7 separate regions of the Homo sapiens genome follow, and all the other regions are linked to region 6. Evidence: promoter capture Hi-C in human tissues and cell types (Jung and others, 2019). All regions are on one chromosome and are shown on one strand. The core of a region is centred on a gene start or on the middle of the fragment in contact, and the rest is flanking DNA. Distances in the headings are between cores, read along the strand shown. Region 1 has its middle 230 kb from the start of MIR4527. Region 2 has its middle 190 kb from the start of SMAD2. Region 3 overlaps MIR4527HG (MIR4527 host gene). Region 4 overlaps LOC105372100 (a long non-coding RNA gene). Region 5 has its middle 210 kb from the start of SMAD2. Region 6 holds the start of SKOR2 (SKI family transcriptional corepressor 2). Region 7 has its middle 260 kb from the start of MIR4527.

Region 1 (2,700 bases), core at 15-2,514, 360 kb after region 6:
TTGATACTCCAGGATAATCTCCCTATTGTATGTTCAACTGGTCAACTGATTAACAAGCTTAATTCACCTTTACCATAAAAAGTAGCAGATTCACAGATTCCAGGAATTCAAACATGAACATCTTTGAGGAACCATTATTCTTCCTCCTATAGCAAGGTCAAAGGCACAGAGATGTGTGAGGACTTATTCTGTCTGGGAACAGAGAAGGGTTCAGGGGCAACATGGGGTGTTGACAGAGGAAGAACCAGGTTATAAAAGTTCTTGTATACCAAGTACATTACTTATTCTTCTTTTTCTTTCTTTTTTTTTTTTTTTTTGAAACAGGGTCTCACTCTGTCACCCAGGCTGCAGTGCAGTGGTGTAATCATGGCTCACCAAAACCTTGCCTCCTGGGCTCAGGTGATCCTCCCACCTTAGCCTCCCAAGTAGCTGGGGCCACAGGTGCACACCACCACACCTGGTTAATTTTTGTATTTTTTGTAGAGATGGGATTTTGCCATGTTGCCCAGGCTGGTCTCAAACTCCTGGGCTCAAGGGATCCACCCACCTTGGACTCCCAGCGTGCTAGGATTATGGGCGTGACCTACTGCACCTGGCCTACATTACTTATTCATTAATCACTATGGCATTTAAGTAGATGAGTGACCTTGTCACCTCCATTTTCTGAGCAATCACTGTAGCCAATGAGATAGAGAGGAAATAGAAGGAAGTGAGGCAGGGAGACTGATTAGGAGGCCACTAGAGTCCACAAAGTAGGAGACAAAGTCTGAACTGAGGCAGCAACCATGGAGATGAATAGAGGGTTTGAAGCTACTTTGGAGGAATAATTGCCAGGATTTGAAGATTTCTGTGCTGAGGTGTATAAGGAAGAAGGAGAGGTTAGGGATGGTGGAGATTTCTAGCTTAGGAGCCTGGATGGATGATGGTTCCATTAATTCAGTGGAGACTTATAGGGCAGGGGTGATAACACAGAGTTTTATGTGCCAGTGGGCTACATGGGTGAAGAAGTCCTGTAGGCAGGTCATGAGCTTAGGGCACTAGAACCTCCTGCCCCCTTCCCAAGCGCATTGCAAGCTGGACTAAGAATACCTTCCTGCCCATTCAAGAAGTCAGGAGAACATATTGTTACTCACCAGTTTATCACAGGCAACAGCAAATATGACCTCCTCCTCTGAAGACACTCTAGTGTGGCTCAGACACAAATGTTTCACAGCCCTCTTTGGTGTGTTCACTAGCCTAGGTTCTACAGAGAACCAGAGAGATCTCTGAGGTGCTCCTAAACTTGAGAGATGCCAGGTATCATGGGAAGCCAGGACACAAGAGTCAAGAGAAATGCAATAACACAAGGGCCAAAGAAGAAGCCAGTCTGGCCCAAGCCAGAAGCCTGGGTGTGGTGTAGATGTCTCCTTGCCTCTTACCTTCATATCACTAAGTCCTTTTGATGATATCTTCTAAACACTCTGGATTCTGCTTTTCCTCCTGCTTAAGCTCGGCCTTTCATAGTCTCATTTTAATCAGTATGAAAGCCTCCGAGCCAGTTCCCTGTCTCTGGTCTTGTTCCCCTTCCATCTGTTCTTTAAATGATAGCCAGAGAGCAGCATTTCTCTAACTTTAATCTCATCTTAACACTACTCAACTTCAAATAATTCAATAAAGCATAGAGAGAACATTTTAAATATAGGAGGGAAGCCCTTTCTAAACAGGACGTAAAACAAACAGTCCATAAAAGAAAAGAATGATAAATTTGAATACATTAAAATTAAAATTTTCTACTCGGAAAAGAATGCCATAAACAAAGTCAAAAGACAACAAACTAAGAAAAAAAATATTTGCAATATAAATGACATGGTGCTAATAACCTAAATATATAGATGGTGTCTACAGATCAATAAGAGAAAAACTTAACTATCCAATACAAAAATTGGCAAGGGAACATGAAGAGAAAATAAAATATAGATAGTTTTTATACATATAAAAAGAAAGTCTAACTCACAATAAGAACAATGCCAATTTTTCTAAAATTAGAAACTAACAGATTAACCACATCAAAACATTTGATAATACACTTAATTGATAAGTTTGTAGAGACAGACACTTTCAAATGCTATTGATGGGAATGTACTAGGATTTGGAAACTGCAAATATCTGTCTTTTTAAAATATTGTATTAAATATATTCTTTGACAAATATATTCAAAGAACATATTGTTTGAAATTATGTATGTATAAAATTATTTCATAAACCCAGATATAGTTACATATATGTGAGCACAAAATTACATGTAAGAGCATTCACTAAAAATATCTCAAATGTCAAACAGAGAACTGATTAAATAATCATAGTTTATGTGTAGTATAGAATGCTCTATAACTATTAAAAAGAATAAAGCGGAAAAAAGAATGAGGTAGTGCTACATGCTTACTATGGAACAATCTCCAAGATAAAATACTAGCAATAAAAGAAATATTATATAGCATCTACTATATGTCAGGCATTATTCTAGAAGCTTTATATATTTATGTATAGTTTTATATTAATAGCATATTTCTATATATTTAACTCATTTAGTGATTACAACAACCTTATAACATATGAATTATTATTATTATTATTCCCGTGTTATAGATGAGGAGACTGAGGCACATTAGAGTTTAGTAATTTGTCCATTATGAATATATATGTGTATATATACACATATAT
Region 2 (2,700 bases), core at 10-2,509, 490 kb after region 6:
TTCCTCCAGATTCAGTCTTTTCCTGTATTTGTTGTATGTAAGATGCTCAATTATATAATGCCCATCTCAATTTTATTCAGATAAATTTGGGCAGAAAGTAATTGTGTATTTTTATCATAGAAGCATTGAGAGTTATTTGAAAGTGTTTTAAAAGTGATTTCGTGAAGGAAAATATGTTATTGTGTCCATATTATCATTCAGAAATGTTTAGCTTTGTTAAACAAAGAGCACACAAAATAGTAATTTAAAAGTGTAGAAATGTATTTTTCTCTCAAGTGAAAGACAGCTCAATGGCAATGACTCTGCATGATGTCAGAAATTCAGGCTTGTTCTATCTTATTGCTTTGCAGAACAGGGCTGCTTCTTCCAACATTATCTCATGGTTCAGTATGGCTGCTAGGACTGCAACCATCACATCTCTTTACATGCAGAAAGAAAAAGAAGGGCATCCCAGTCTTTTAAAGAGATTAATCAACAGAAGACCCTAAAAGCTTCCAGAGTGTAGAAAAAGATCCCATTTAAAATAAAAGATCATATCCAAATGATTCAGAATCAGAATATCTATAGCAATACTGGAAGCTAAAAGACAACGAAACAATGCTTTCAAAGAGGGTAGAAAAATATTCTCCAATTTATAATTCTATAACCAACCAAACTGCCAAGAGTGAGAGTTTTTCATTTTTCACAGGAAACTACTGAATGATACAGATCTCCAAAATAAGGAAGTAAACCTAGAAAAAGAAAGACATGGGACCCAAGAATCCCACCAAGAAAAGAGGTGAAGAAAAATCCCAGGATGATAGCTAATCAAATAGTTAACATATTTCAACATATTCTAAAGAGATTTTCAATTCTGTAGAAGAATTTAGGAATAGATTTGCAATACACTAACAAGTTATAAACTAAGCAAATGAAAACAAAAGCAAGTATCAATCCAGGAGGAAGAAAAAAGAATTATACTCATAGCACCCTACATGGCTTAGCTATGAATATTTATATGCTCATACTAATATAAATACCCAACTAGTGACTTTTATGAAAAATTGTGATACAGCTCTATTGGAGGATGGGGGAAGGATAGTTTGTGTGTTTGGTGAGAGAGCAAATGGGTGTGTAAAGAGCTAAAATTTAATTATCTGTGGTTGAAAGTCAATCAATAACTCTTAAAACTGAGAAATCAAGAAATAGCTACCTATGCAAGAAATTTTAAAATATAGAAGTAAATAGCAGATTAAATAGCTAAAAGAGTTGAGAGGGGTTACTCTGGGGAGTGCAGATTTAGGATGGGGAGAACAGGATAACAAACCACTCTCTTATGTTATCTAATAATATTTTTGTCTAAATAACTGTAATAGTTTGTTAAACAACATAAATATATTAATATTTTATATATCAATATGTTAGTATTTTTATATATCAATATCTTAATGTTGTAAAGGTATTAATGCCAGGCTATTTGGGATACTTTTTCCTTGCTGACAGGGGAGGAGATGGAGGAAGGCAGGCATCCTACACACTAGCCAAAGACAATAATTCTTCCAAAGAAGAACTGGAAGGCTGGTAAATGTTCTGAACCCTTACTTGTCTGATGTAGCTTCATTTTACCCTCGCACTTGAATGATCATTTATGTTCAAAGCCATTTCCCCTCAGAGCTTTGAAAACATTGCTCCATTATTTTCTTGTATCCAATTGTGCTAATGAGGAATATGATATCAATCCAATTCTTGTTCCTATGCGTAGTGGGTTGGAGTGAGTTACCCAAAAAGACACATTTAAGTCCCAGACCCAACCCCCAGCACTTGTTAGTGTGACCTTATTTGCAAGGAGGGTGTGTGCAGATATAATTAAGGATCTTGAGATGGGATCTTTTAGGGTGGGCCCTAAGTCCAAGGACTGGGGTCCTTATAAGAAAAGGAAAGAATGCAGAGACACAGAGAAGGCTATGTGGAGATGGAAGCAAAGAGCAGGATCATGGAGCTGCAGGCCAAGGAGTGCCAAGGGTTGACAGGAGCCACCCAAGCTAGGAGAGAGGCATGGAACAGGCTCTCCCTCACAGCCTCCAAGAAGAATCAACCCTTCTACACTTCAGAACTGTGATAATTAAATTTCTGTTGTTTTAAGCCACTCAGTTTGTGATAATTTGTTACAGAAGCCCCAGGGAGTGAATATACAGTTGACCCTTGAACCACATGGGTTTGCACTGCACAGATCCACTTACAGGCAGGTCTCCTTCCGCCTCTGCCACCCCTGAGACAGCAAAACCAACCCTTCCTCTTCCTCCTCCTCAGCCTACTCGACATGATGCTCCACTTCCACTTAGTAAATAATAAATAGATTTCCTCTTCTTCATGATTTTTTTTCTGTTTTTTTCTTTTCTTTTTTTTCTTAGAGACAGGGTCTTGCTCTGACTGCCAGGCTGGAGTGCAATGCCACCATCATAGCTCACTGCAGCCTCGAACTCCTGGGCTCAAGTGATCCTCCTGCCTCAACCTCCCAAAATGCTGGGATTAGAGGCATGAGCCACCACACCTGGCCCTGCGATTTTCTTGATAACATTTTCTTTTCTCTGGCTTCCTTTATTGTAAGGATACAGTGTCTAACACATATGACATACAAAGTATCTGTTAATCAACTGTTTACATTATTGGTGAGGCTTCCAGTCAACAGCAGGCCATTAGTAGTTAAGTTTTAGTAGAGTC
Region 3 (2,700 bases), core at 145-2,644, 330 kb after region 6:
CATTAAGTTATATATAAGCCAGTAAAGCGGTCCAACCACACATATAAATTGTACAGCCTGAACTCTTCTTGACCCCTTTCCCTGAATTGCATGCCCCCTTGCTGTCTTGCAGGCCAGGAGGTCCCCAGTTGGTTCTGGTCTGGTGCAAGTTGTGGCCAAGGGTCTGGCCGATGGACTCACCTAGATTGCTTGGGCTTCTTCCCTTCAACATGGGTGATTTATCTGAGTTTCAGGGTCCACCAGCAACTCTTGCTTCCCTGATGTTGTTAAACAAATCACTTCCTTTGCCAAATAATTAATTTGATGACATTTCTAATTTCTGCTTATCTTCCCTTCAGGACATGCAAACTTCATTTTATGACCCCTGTTCCAAAGGAACACACAGGCCAGAAAGGTCATTAGATGTACAGGTAGAGTCAGGAAGGGACAGATGTTTGCACTGGAGGGATACTAGGAAGCTGGCGGCTGGCAGCCTTTTCTGCTTTTTCCAATCCACATTATTCAAGACAAGGTTTTTTGTTGTGGTAAATCTATATTTGAGGTGAAAATTATTCAGAAGGAAGGCTGAATGCACTTCCTGAAGCCAAAGAGGAGAAAGGACTATTCGTGGATTCCTGGATTGTATGAGCTATGTGATCTGGGCAGGCTGCAAGGAGGAGGAGGATTGTAGGCTAGTCTGGGGGTGGTGTGCTCACACAGATAGAGGGGAGAGAAGGTGCATTCAGGGCGAAGCCACGGGGGTGGACGGTGTTGGTGGGGGGCGTAGGTACTAATGGGAGTAGAAACACAGGGCATGTTTCAGAGATGGTGTTTGGCTGATAGGTTTGATTGTGATCAGCTGGAAGGCTGTCACAAGTCCGGAATACCAGGTGAGGCAGTGGGAACTCTGTGTTCCTGGCAGGAGAAGCAAAAGGCAAAGCTTCCTTCAGCTCCTTCCCATCCCATAACTTTTGCTTGCCACAAGACCCCAAGATGCTGCAGCAACAAGAAAGGCTACTGGATCATCAAATAAACATGTGATTTAATTAAGTAGAATTTTATAATTCATAATTGTGATGTTTTTAAAACAGGGATACTAGTAGCATCATCTTGTGCTGTTTTGTATACAACTTGGTACACTTCCTCTTCATTTATTTGGATCCCAGCCTTGTGAAATGGGAGGAGATGAACAAGTATGTGTGGATGAGGCAGAAAGGGTGGAAGTAACCAAAGCTCAGAGAGATGACACCACCTGCCCAAGACCACAAAGCCGGTCACCTGTGGGTCTTGGGGCCTGTAGCAATTGTCTGTTACTTGAATGTCAAGCTTATAGGGACAGCCCCGGATGTTGCTAGAAGGCAGAATCCAGGAAGCTTCAGGCCGTGGTAGCTGTCACCACCTATAGCCTTTGGTCCAGCTCCCTGGTAAAACACACACCTGTGGGCACCCACAGCACCCTGGGTCTGGGAGAGGGGGTGCAGGTGGTCACTCGGAGCTGAAACCCCATCAGCGGAAACACTCCACATAAAAGGGAGCCAGGGATGCCAATTTCCATTTTCATTAGAGTGGCTGGTGCTTAGTAATCCAGAAGCTTTATTTAAGGGCTGACCTCTGACCGGGCCTGTCACTCCAGTGGCAGGCGCCTGATAGTCACTAGAAATCAATAGCTGGCATGAAGGTCACTTCCTAGAAAAACTGGGGCTATCAACGTGTCAGTTCCAATGAAAGATTATAACCAACCAGCAGAGAAGTTTATCTGTGGCTGAGAGCTTATCTGAGCTGGGCTTGTTGTAGGCTGTACACATGCACATGTGAGTAGCTATGTGTGAGTGGGCAAGTGTGCATGCATGTAGAAATGTGTGCATCTGTGAAACAAAGCACACATGTGCAGGAGAGTGTGTGTGAGTGCTTTTGTGCAGATATGAATGTGCATGTGGGTGCAATCAGTGTGGATAGGTGAGCAAGTGTGTTTAAGTGCAGATGATAATGTGTGTAAGAGAGTTGTGTATTTGTGCTTCTGTGTGTACATGCATTTTCAGGTAAGTTTATGTATGTGTGTCAGTGCACATGTGAACATGTTAAGCACACACATGTGTGCGTATGTGTGGTTGGGTGTGCAGATGCCCATGTTTGTGTATATGGGTGTAAAGGTGCATTTGATAGTATGCATATATCTTACCTGGCCTAGAAGGCCTGAAATACTCTGGCCCCTGTCTACTCAACCAGTCTCTCCTCCCCTCCCTACTCCACGCTGGTCCCTCACTGGGTTCCTTCCTCTTGCCTGAGGATACAAACCATGTCCTCTCAGGACGCTGATACTTCAGGGCTTGCTGCTTCCACCAAGCAATGTCTCTTTCTCGTCTCCTGTACTGCCCCTTTCCTACCACTTGGTTTTCAAATGACATGCTGGCCTCTGAGAGTTACATTCCCAGCCATCTTGAAGGTGTTCCTACATGTATTTCCTCCATGGAAGTTACAACAACGTGTGGGGATCTCAGTTTAGTGAGTTGTTTGTTGTCTGCCCCCTCACAGGCCCCCTATCCATCTCTGCATGGCTGAGCCCTCGCTGAGGTATCTAGGGATCTCGCAAGTGTCTGACACCTCACAGGTGCTGACTCTTTGGCCTCTTTTCAGACAAGGAGAATTCTATCTGCTGAGGAATTCTACACTAGTGCTGTGAACTTAACCTCTCTGGGCCTCAGTTTCCTCATGTGTAAAATG
Region 4 (2,700 bases), core at 185-2,684, 430 kb after region 6:
TTCTTTCAAATACCTCTACCTTTCAGGATCTCTCTTATTCCACAGAACTCCTCTAAGGAGCCTAAGACTGTGCCCTATTACTCAAAACCCTTGGTTGACTACACTCCATGAAGTGCTGGCTGATGGCTACTACACATAAGTCCTGGAATGTTTGCATTCTCATAGGGGGCTACAGACTCTTAAACCAGCATCAGCCAAACAAGTTGAGCTGAAGTTAAGTGGCCAGTGACTCACCACAGTGCTGAGGGAGGAGTTTGGACAGGAAGGCCTAGCTTCATCCCTCAATTCATACTCAATTTCCTATTATCCTGTTTTATTTAGGGTGACTAGGTGAGGTGAGTGAGGCTCCTAGGGAGCAAAATTGAAGAAAGTGTAGAGCTGGCATTTGCATGCCTCTGACAGTGAGTTCCTTCTCAAATCTGCACCCTAGGAAGGTGGCAGAGATATCAGCCCCATTCCCTCTCCTCACTAGTTATTCCTCTGCCATAAACATGAGCCTGAACTCATGGCTCTTAGGCCTGCAAGGAACTTGGAGAGCTCCTCTGACTCAGCCCCCAGTGTTCAGAGGTGAGGCAGCAAGGACCCAAGGTGTTAAGGCTGGACCTAGACCTGGATGGGGTGCCATGGAGGAAGATGGGGGACTTAGGAATGGGATTGGTGGCTGGGCTCTTTGCTCTTTGATCACACCACACACACACACACACACACACACACACACACACACACACACACACACAGAGAGAGAGAGAGAGAGCCCTGAGAAGACCTATAGTGAGGCAAGACTCCTCACTATTCTTCTAGGTCTCCAGCACATGGACAAAGGGAGGAAAGCACAGAGGATGGCTTTGAGAGAAGATTGGTTAAAGAAAGCGATAAGGAGAAGTGGGAAAGGGTCACCAGAACCTGTGGCCTGGCCCCATGGGATCTCTGTGAAATGTCCTCCTTCATAAAAAAAAAATATATATAATATATATATTTTATATATATATATTTTATATATATTATATATATTTTATATATATTATATATATTATATATATTTTATATATATTATATATTATATATATTTTATATATTTTATATATATTATATATATTATATATATTATATATATAATATATAAAATATATATTTTATATATAATATATATTTTATATATAATATATATTTAATATATTATATATATATTTTATATATATTATCTATTATATATATTTTATATATATTATCTATTATATATTTTATATATATATTTTATATATATTATATATATTTTATATATTTTTATATATATATATATCAAGAACTCAATAGTTACTCACATACTAAGAGCCTACTATGTACCTAGACTGTTCTAAGTGTGGGGAAGGAGTGGGGAAGCAAACAAGCGTAAGGCATGTAGCTTGCCCTGGAGGCATTGACAAGCCTGTAGGGGAGAAAAAGATTTGACAAGTTAGCAAATCATGTAAGTCAGGAACTTCCAGCAGGAACAGGAGTGACTGCTGGGGCAAGGGATCTATGGGGATACAAGAGCAGGTGTGTAAGTCAGAATAGGCTAGGTTATGCTGCAGTAACCAATGACTCCAAACTGTCTGTGGCTGACAACAGCAACAGTCTGTATCAGATTGATTTCCAGCTCACTGCACATGAACAAGCTATGCTCTGTTCCATCGTTTTCGTTTGAACCCAGGCTGATGGAGCAGTCTCTATCCAGGACATTTCTATTTGTCATGATAGAGAGAAAAGAGAAAACCAGTTGGTAAAGCTTCTCCTTGGACTGTAATACTTGTCATGTCCCCTCACAGTTCATGGAATGAGATTCACACTGAGTGTCATTCCACTCATGTTATGACCAAAGCAAGTCACATGCCCAAGCCAACCATTGATGGAACAGGGAGATATAATTATCCTCAGGAAAGAACAGAAAGTATCTGAGAATAATAATACAATCTCCTACAGCAGGGAAAGCTTCCTGGGGAAGAAACAATGTGACATGGGTCTTGCAAGATGAATACATTTGAAAGAAAACATCAGTCCAGAAAGGCAGCATATTCTAATGATTAGAAGTGCAGGTTCCAGAAGCAGACTGCCTGGATTAAGCTCTCTGTCCCTCAGTTTTCTCATCTGTTATATGAGAATATGAATAAAACATATTAGACAGCGTTGCTGTGAAGCTAAATGAATTAATACAAATAAATTTTGAGGGGATGGTGCCCGGAACATAGTAAATAAATACCTATAAAATATACTAGATGAATACCAGGTCTTATTATTATTTCAGATTTTGTGGAAGCCCAAAGGATTAAAGATTCAGGGTGCATTTGGAGGACAATGCAGTAGAGAACATTCTTATAGAAGTAAAAGAGTTACAGTAGACAGGACTAGCAGACAACCCCCAAAAACTGAGAGAATCAAGCCTGATTATGGAAGACCATGGATGCCAAGCTAAGAGGTGTGGGTGTGACTGATTCATGAATGTATGGACCAATGAGCCGACTCTCAGTGATCCCTTGGAAGTGTCATGGGGGTTTCCATTAAGTTTAGGTCAACTCTTCCACTGCCACAGGGAAATGGCAGTCTTAAGTCACAGTGGTGTCATGCACTGCTGTGTCAGAGCTCCTTCTCAGACAAGCTAGGTGACCCTAGACAAGTTCCTTCACCTCTCTGGGTCCTGAGTCTCCCCCTCTGTGAAAGGAGAGG
Region 5 (2,700 bases), core at 111-2,610, 470 kb after region 6:
TGGGCCATCTGCTGTTCCCCCAAACCCCATCACTGTCTCTTCCCCAGGCCAGGCCAGATATCACACCTCTGCAGGTAGAGGAAGGGTTTCAGAGATAATCCCAGTCAAAGCCACAAGTTTTCTTTCAGTAAAACTTGGAAACAGACTGGCCATGACCCATGGGATGCCAAATGCCATTAAGGGGAACCTAAAGAGGGAGAGTTGTGTCTGAACAGCTGGTGAGTTTACCCCTTGGGCCTGTATGCTCTTAAAGGGGCATTTCTTCTTCCACCAGTTGAGCCTTCCTCGCCCAGGCCAGGGCTGCCATGCAAGGATGCTGGGATTACATCCTGCACAGCCCCACGGGCTCTGTTCTACATGAAAGGCATTGCTGGGGTTGTGCAGTAGACAACCTGTGCAGCTGCATAGGGCAACCCTGTTCTCAGTCTCTGCCAGAACTTCCCTCCCTTTGCTTGGCATTCAAGCACCTTTCATGGTGCTTCTTCTACAAGACAAAGGCACTGGCAGGAAAGTCAAGGAAAACCCAGATTTTCCTCTAGTCTCACTGTCCAGCCAGCGTGACAAGTGCCTCCACACAAGAGAGGATCTCCCAGTTCCTACCTGGGCACACCAAAAAACACACCCACTCTGCTATGGAGAAGCTCCTCCTAGGCTGAGCTGACATTCAGCAACCAGGCCCTGCCCTAGCTCTTCAGGGGTGGACCGAGGATTCTAGAGCTCCAGCCACCTGCAGACTCCTCAACAGACTTCCAAATGCACCAGTGTGGAGGATCCTGGGATATGCTTCAGAGGCTTAGCTTGGGGACTGCGCACTCCCATGTGTGACCCCAGGGCTGGTTTCAGTGAGGCCAGCCAGAAACCATTGTCAGGCCATGCACAATAGGGTGTGGCAGTAACATAAGAAGAGAGCAGGAGGTATTAGGATCTCTGGATTTGCTCTTCCTCCACAGCCTCCCATGGAAACTGCCTTCTCTCACCCTCCCTCATTTGTCCCTTCAGCCAGATCAGCCTCCTCATGGTCCCCGCTAGACTGTGTCTGCCCTTTGGCTCATGCCATTTTCTGACCCACCTGCCTCACTCCATCTCACTCAGCCCCAACATCCAGCTCCATCCTCCTTCTCCATGGCGCCCCCCCAGAAACAATCCTCCAGTTTCAAACTCCCATGGCAGTTATCAGTTCCACACAGGTGACAATTATTATCTACTTCCTCCTATTATTGAATTACTTGATGTCATTTGCACACACATGGTCATGCGGTATTTATGAACATGCATGGCTGAATAAATGAATGAATAAATCAATCAATCTGGTATCAGTATTATAACTAAGGTCCCAGTGCCTTTGCAAAAACCATGTGCATATTCAACATATAGATATAAGACCTACAACCCTGAACACCTGTAACTGATTCCAAGGTGTGCAAGGGTTGGCAGATGCCACTGGGAGAGCGGTCCATTTCACTGGTAGCTGCAAACAAAGTCAGCCAGTTAATAGAAACCTGTTTCTAATTGCTTGACATATAATAGATACACCTCCAAGCAGCTGAGACCACCGAATCCCATTCAAAGCCCTGCTTCCCGGCTTACACCTAAGCCTTTCATGTTTTATTAGAGCCCTGCACATTTCATTTCCTTTTATGTGGGGAAGAAAATGGACCCTTGGTTCTAGAAGGGGCATTCACAGACACACTTTTACTTATTGAAGGGCAGCTTTGTAGAAAGCAAACCCCCTGCCTCGGGTTTGTGGATTCAGGTTCAAGGAAGGTGGAGAAGACAGCGGTCACTTTCTCTCCCCCAGTATCATCCAGAAACATGAAGATCTCAATCACATCCAGCCCAGGGTGAGACCCTGTGTGAACACAGCCATGTAGCCCCTGCTCCCCACGCTTGTACACTTAGCTGCCACCCCAAGAGCAGAGCAGCCCCCACAACACATTCCCAGTGTGGCCAGTGTCTCAGAGTGGACAAACCAGCAAAGGCAGTCATAAATCAGGGCTCCCATCACTCCCACACCCCATCTTCCCCTGCCTCTCCCAGCCTGGACATGGAGTCCACCCACAGCTCTGCTGGCAGAGGACCGGCAGCCTTGACCCCACCGGCCGGCAGTGGCCTGGAATCCACCATCCTGCTCAAACTCGGACACGTACTGGGGATTAAAACACCCTTCACCCCCCAGGGGCCCAAGAGTGTCAGAATTTCCAGCCTGCTCCTGTCCTTCTGCTCCAGCCAGAGGAGCAGGAGGGGCTTGTGCACTGCACTTGCCTGCTGTGTCCTCCCACCCCTGTTGGACTACAGCCTAGGCTCAGAGGAGACACCAGGCCCAGCTTTTGTCCTGCTCCCTAGACCACACCCCCAGCCACAACCACCAGCCAGGTTCCTGTCACGGCTGGACAGCTCCCTCCAAAACTCGGTGTGGAGAATTGCCCCTGCCAGGAAGCTTCTTCCATGCTCAAGCCTTTATGAGACTTGAATTTTCAGAGCAGAACTGCTGGGGCACTGCAGCTCCTGCTGGGTGGTTTTCAGGGGCCATCTTCTGTAGCTGGGCCAGTCCCTGCAGCCTCCCACTCCTGCACCATGACAAGCGAGGCCCTTGGTAAGCCTCATCACATTGGCAGCAGTGCAGCTGCTCAACCTTTATGAAACAATAGGTGTATGCAAGGCCTGCCTTTTTGCATATCATGTATGATCCATTTCAAAAGC
Region 6 (2,700 bases), core at 74-2,573:
GAGGGAAAATATTCAGTAAGTTGAAAATACAGAACAAGGAAGCGGAAAGAAATTTTAGTGACAATGCCACTAAGTGGAAAGAAGGAAAGTGGCTCACTCCCTAGGAAAACAAACACTGATCTTTCCACAGCTACATCTCAAGCGCATTGGCCAAGGCATGCTTTGCCCTGAAAAATCACCAGAGGCCATAGCGTGGCCCCTTTCGGCCACGTACAGCGAGTTCGCTATTACAGTGCTTTCAGAGGGTACACGATCTTACTCCCTCACCCAATTTCTTATCCGTGTCCTCTCTCTGGGCCCCTGTGGCATCTATACAGCAGCCTCTGTCCTGCTGCCCCCTGGATCCTCAGTTCTCATTACATTTGGCGGCCTCCAGGAAGCTTGAACAAACCTCGACGCGATCAAAGGAGAGGAAAGCCTGCTTGTCACTTTGGGTGGATCAGAGACAATATTTCCAGGGGACAGGGCGTTACATGGCAGTTCAAGGCGCAGTGACACCCGAGTCTGATACAACCAACACTAGCTTCGTCAGGTGGCCCTTCGATGCTCATTTCCCTACCAAACAAGATTCATATCCGCTTAATAAGACCCTGGGATAATTCCAACTCTCGCTCCCCAGCAAGGCGCGCGGCTGGCCAGCCGGGGCGGGAAGCTGGCTCTGCGTTAAGGACTCGCAGCCTTAGCAGCAGTAGACCAGGCAGAAGTGTCTCCTCACTTTTACCCCAAGCCCTCCCAGAAACTGCCGTCAGAGCAGACACAAGGTTTTGGTTGGGGCATTATTTTTTGGGTGGGTGGGGAGGGGAGAAGAGACAATTAAAAGTTAGTTGAACTGAGAAAGGAACCTGGTGAACTTCCCTATCCTGCCCAACAGCCAAAGACCCCCCCACCCCCAACTTAGTTCTCCCGACTCCCAAACCAGTCACCACGGAAGCCCACCGCTGCCCCTCAACCTAACGCGGAAAATCCTACCGCTGGGGATCTCAAATAGGTGCCCAGCAAGCTGTGTGCCGGATTGGGGCGGCCGGTTCCGGCAATACCTGGTAACCTCTGGGTGTCTTTAGGCGTGTGGCTGCCGGCCCATCTTCCGAGGGCGCTCGGAGGCGAAGCATCCAAGCGGGTCCTCGTATCCAGCGGGCGGGACTCTGGCGGGCTCCGCGCGAAGATCCGGGCTCTGGCCCGAGCGAATGGCGCTCAAACCCCGGCCTGGGGAGAATGACGGCCTGAATTGCGGCGGGGCGTCCCCTCCACCGCAGAAAGTGTGGGTACGCAGAAACCCGCGGCAGGAGAGCCCCAAGTGGAGCGCAGTCTGACAGCGTCTGTCTCTGAACTCGTGTCGGACCGAGGGGACGCCACCCAGCGGGCAGGGTGACGTCACCGTCTCCCTGACACTCCACATTAAAGGGCTGGCATGTTACAGGGAGGGAGGGGGAGAGCGAAAGCCAGCGCGAGCAACAGAGAGATCCTTTCTCAGCAGGCACGAAAGCTACCAACCTAACCAACTCGCAATTGACAACAACCTCCTCAGCCCCGGAGTAAACTGCAGCAATGGTGCTGGAGCCGCAGATCTGATTTAGGAGTGGAAAGCGAACAGTCTGCCTGCATCCCGGGACCTAGATCCTGGAGGCCCCGGATTCTAGAAGGACGCCTCCAAATTAACTATATCCCTGACCGTTATTGTCTCCTCCCCTCATTTCTGAGTCACCCTCCTTCATGAATGATCCCTCTGGTACAGGATGCAAAGCTGCTCTGTGTCTGAAGACAGAATCCACAGTCAGCTGGAGAATAAATTAGCTTCAGTGACTCCTTTGAAACGCTATGAAATGAGAAAAAGGAGAGAAGTTTCCACATAGGGTGCCCAATCAGAAAACTTGGAGTGCCCCGACTTTTGCATATACATTTGCTTTATAGGACAAGATGCAGAGTCACTGCAGCCTTCTCTATTTTATGGAGTGTACAATTAGGTGAGGACCCCAATATGTGCATATGCACATCGATTTATCAAACTTCATTCAGAATCGTCCTCTAACCCATTTTACAAGATCCGTAAGGCTACCTCTACACAAGGAAAGGGTGGGGCAGGGAAGCAGGGAGGTCCCCCACATGGAAGAGTCCTTCAGCAAGTTGCCAATTTTCCTGGAGAAATAAATAAATTTAATCAGGAAAACATGTAGAAGCATGATCTCCTCCCCTAAAATAAAGACTAGGATGAGAAAACATTTCCTCACAGTTTCCCTAAATGAGGCGCACCCTAGTGTATTAATGAAGTGTCAATATAGTGCGTCCCAATTGACCAGCTGTTAAGAGTCAAAACGACCACTGGCTAGTTTATCGGAAAGGAAAGAAACCACTTATTTGGAGTATGTTCTAAGAAGGATGCCGGCTGGGGTGGGGCTGGGAAATCCTTTAAGTTTTTCCTTTACTACCATAGCTGAATTTTCAATTGCTGCCTAGTGAAACAGTCCTAGCATTGTGGAAATGATGGAAAAACATCTACCAAGCTGAAAGCCCACCCAGATTGTGTCATAGCACCAACAACATACCACTCCTAAATACAAGAGCAAAAATGTGAAATCTTAACCTTCATCAAAGGTTAATAAACCCAAGGAAAGTCAATTGAACAGAAACGTGAGGGGCTTGTTGCTCAGGAGTTGTGTCTATTTTAAATTAATATCCTGAAAACACAGTTACAGAGACATGAAA
Region 7 (2,700 bases), core at 198-2,697, 380 kb after region 6:
TGGAGGATAATCGGTGGCCACAGGAGTAGGCAGATACCCCAGCCTGGGCTTCCCTGGTTAATACATGGTCACTCTACTTTGAAACTGCATGCATTTGTAAATCTTCCTGGGCAAAGATATAAAACTCCCCATGTGGTCTGACCAGAGTCCTGAACTTGCAATTTCTACTATTATGGGAGCTCAGTGAAACTGAAGATGCTCACAAGCTTCCCTTCTTCTACTTAGAGGTGACTTCTTCCAGCCATGGAAATGACAAAACTACTCCCCCAATTACTTCCATGTCCCACCCTAAGTACCTGGGACACAGACATGTACAGATCAGAAACCTCCTGGATCCCTCAACCTGCATGGTCCCTCCCTCCTTTGCCAGAACTTACTGTCGGGGCCACTCTTTTAGTACCTGTTATATGCTCTGCCTCACATACTTGTTTTTATTTCTTAATAATAAAATTTGTGAGTAAATTCCATGAACAAGAACAGTTTCTTACATGTATCCTCCACGGAACTGCCCAATCATAAATAATCAATAAATGTCTGTTTATTAACTGGGTGGCCAATTTACATAGTAAGTAAATATTAATTCCTTTTATTTTGTAAACACTTCTTGAGCATTTGTGATGTGCCAGGCACTGGGGTAAGAGCCCTCTTTGCCACCAAGCCACTCATGCTCTTGTGGGGAAAATAGACACATAAAGAAGCACTAGGTCAAAGACAAGTTGAGACAGAGACAAGTGTGGGACACTGTGGTGTCATGGGGAAGGGTACCTGGCCTGGGCCTGGGGGCGTTGGAATTGAAAGCTTCTTGGAGGCAGGAGGACAACAATGATTCGAACCCAAGCCTCCACTCGTATCCAATTGTCTTTTCAATGGGAACTCAAATTTTAAAAGAGATAATCCTTATTACCTGCCTAATTTATTTTTTAGAAGTGGAGATGTATAACCTGGGTGAGCTGAGCTGCAGGGCAGGCTGCGTCCCTAGCAATTGGCATGGGCTTTATCAGAGTGGCACTACACTTTGGGGGTGTTGTCACACCCTTCTGACAGCTGATTCCATTTCTGTTACAACCGGCCCAAGTGTCTCAGGGCTGGTTGGGAAAGTGTCTGAGTGTTTATCACAGGGGCTGTGGTTGGCAGAAGCCTTCAGAGTAACACAACGACTAAGAACACACCCTTCAATGTCGGGCTCTATAAAACTTACTGCCTATGTGACTTAAACTTAACTGCTCTATGCTCAGTTTCTTCACCTTTAAAATAAGGATGATAACAGTGTGGGGAAAGATCAAATGAGATAATTTGAAGCTTTCTGTGTCTGGCTTCCTTCACTCGGCAAATACTTTTGAGACATATCCATGTTGTTGCATGTACAAGTCATTCATTCCTTTTTATTGCTGAGTAGTATTCCAGTGTATGAATATATCAAAAATTATTTATTTTCTTACCTGTTGATGGACACTTGGGTTATTTCCTGTTTGAAGCTATTATCAGTAAAGCTACTATAAACATATACAGGCATTTGTGTGGACATGCTTTTTTTATTTTCCTTTTCTGTCATATGGCAAGTGTATACTTAATTAAATAAGAAACTGTCAAAGTGTTTTCCAAAGAGCCTGGCCCATTCTGCATTCCAATCAGTAATGTATGAGTGATTCGGTAGCTGCACATCCTCATCAATACTTGGTATAATTTAGCCATTCTAGTGTGTTTGTAGTGGATCTTGTTATGGTTTTAATTTGCATTTCTTTTTCTTTTCTTTTTTTTTTTTTTTTTTTTTTTGAGACAGTCTCACTCTGTCACCCAGGCTAGAGTGCAGTGGCACAATCTCGGCTCACCACAACCTCCACCTCCTGGGTTCAAGTGACTCTCCTGCCTTAGCCTCCCAAGTAGCTGGGACTACAGGCATGCGCCACCATGCCCGACTAATTTTTGTATTTTTAGTAGAGACAGGGTTTCACTATGTTGGCCAGGCTGGTCTCCAACTCCTGACCTCATGACCCGCCTGCCTTAGCCTCCCAAAGTGCTGGGATTACAGGCATGAGCCACTGCACCCAATTTCTAAGCAACTTTTGACTCTTTTAGAAAAATTACATCCACCTTAAACGATTAAAAACATATGAAGATATTTGAGGGCTTATGCCAAGATTGTGATGGAAATTCCCAAAGATGATTCTAGTTATGCTCAGCAAAGTCCACATAGTGAAAACCCACAGACAGCCTTCCAACAAGCTACTTTGAAGGACTTTGTTGTCTCTCCTGAAGAGACAACATTCATCTGAGCATGGTGTTTTGAACTAATTGTTTTTAAAACTCAATCCTGTTACCTCATAGCAGACTCTTTGGCAATAGAAAATGGTAATTAATAGAGTCTGGGGTCAGTTTGCCTTGGTTCATAGCACTTACTAATTCTTCAACCTCAGTTTCCTCGTCTATTCAGATTAAATGAGTTACTATACATGAAGGACTCAGAAAATACCTGGCACATACTAAGTACTCAACACAAGTTTTCATCATATGTCTTCAGCAACTTTTTTGCTCTTTGTCATTAACACTTTTTGTCCCATTATACTCTTAACAATTCTGAACTCCTCAGCTTATTCTGGTTCTAGAGCTTAATGAAATTTGAGCAAGAATCCTGTAGTTATTCAATCCACTGGATTAGGTACTCCAAGCTTATAGCATGGAGAAATGTGTAAACCTTTCACT

What was found. Contacts are between HindIII fragments. The study calls those that stand out against the background at their distance.
Region 1: a fragment that was not itself captured here is called in contact with the fragment with the promoter of SKOR2 in region 6 in 2 of the 25 tissues and cell types used here (aorta and mesendoderm cells).
Region 2: a contact is called between a fragment that was not itself captured here and the fragment with the promoter of SKOR2 in region 6, in 1 of the 25 tissues and cell types used here (dorsolateral prefrontal cortex).
Region 3: a contact is called between a fragment that was not itself captured here and the fragment with the promoter of SKOR2 in region 6, in 4 of the 25 tissues and cell types used here (H1 embryonic stem cells, bladder, mesendoderm cells and 1 more).
Region 4: a contact is called between a fragment that was not itself captured here and the fragment with the promoter of SKOR2 in region 6, in 4 of the 25 tissues and cell types used here (bladder, mesendoderm cells, spleen and 1 more).
Region 5: a contact is called between a fragment that was not itself captured here and the fragment with the promoter of SKOR2 in region 6, in 7 of the 25 tissues and cell types used here (IMR-90 fibroblasts, dorsolateral prefrontal cortex, heart left ventricle and 4 more).
Region 7: a contact is called between a fragment that was not itself captured here and the fragment with the promoter of SKOR2 in region 6, in 4 of the 25 tissues and cell types used here (H1 embryonic stem cells, dorsolateral prefrontal cortex, lymphoblastoid cells and 1 more).

What each region holds. Positions count from the first base shown.
Region 1 is chr18:47,607,992-47,610,691 of GRCh38, forward strand. No RefSeq gene overlaps it. Among named protein-coding and RNA genes, the nearest start is that of MIR4527, 230 kb to the left of the region's middle. The HindIII fragment of the contact is 5,012 bases long and covers 1-2,700 here.
Region 2 is chr18:47,741,493-47,744,192 of GRCh38, forward strand. No RefSeq gene overlaps it. Among named protein-coding and RNA genes, the nearest start is that of SMAD2, 190 kb to the right of the region's middle. The HindIII fragment of the contact is 3,910 bases long and covers 1-2,700 here.
Region 3 is chr18:47,583,725-47,586,424 of GRCh38, forward strand. The region is part of intron 2 of MIR4527HG (MIR4527 host gene); the gene reads left to right. Among named protein-coding and RNA genes, the nearest start is that of MIR4527, 200 kb to the left of the region's middle. The HindIII fragment of the contact is 3,652 bases long and covers 1-2,700 here.
Region 4 is chr18:47,683,758-47,686,457 of GRCh38, forward strand. The region is part of intron 4 of LOC105372100 (a long non-coding RNA gene); the gene reads left to right. Among named protein-coding and RNA genes, the nearest start is that of SMAD2, 250 kb to the right of the region's middle. The HindIII fragment of the contact is 3,983 bases long and covers 1-2,700 here.
Region 5 is chr18:47,722,411-47,725,110 of GRCh38, forward strand. No RefSeq gene overlaps it. Among named protein-coding and RNA genes, the nearest start is that of SMAD2, 210 kb to the right of the region's middle. The HindIII fragment of the contact is 3,467 bases long and covers 1-2,700 here.
Region 6 is chr18:47,250,337-47,253,036 of GRCh38, forward strand. SKOR2 (SKI family transcriptional corepressor 2) reads right to left here and starts at 1,324. Exons shown (of 9, transcript NM_001278063.4): 1 at 1,038-1,324. RefSeq lists an enhancer at 1,192-1,708. The HindIII fragment of the contact is 10,120 bases long and covers 1-2,700 here.
Region 7 is chr18:47,634,588-47,637,287 of GRCh38, forward strand. No RefSeq gene overlaps it. Among named protein-coding and RNA genes, the nearest start is that of MIR4527, 260 kb to the left of the region's middle. The HindIII fragment of the contact is 4,400 bases long and covers 1-2,700 here.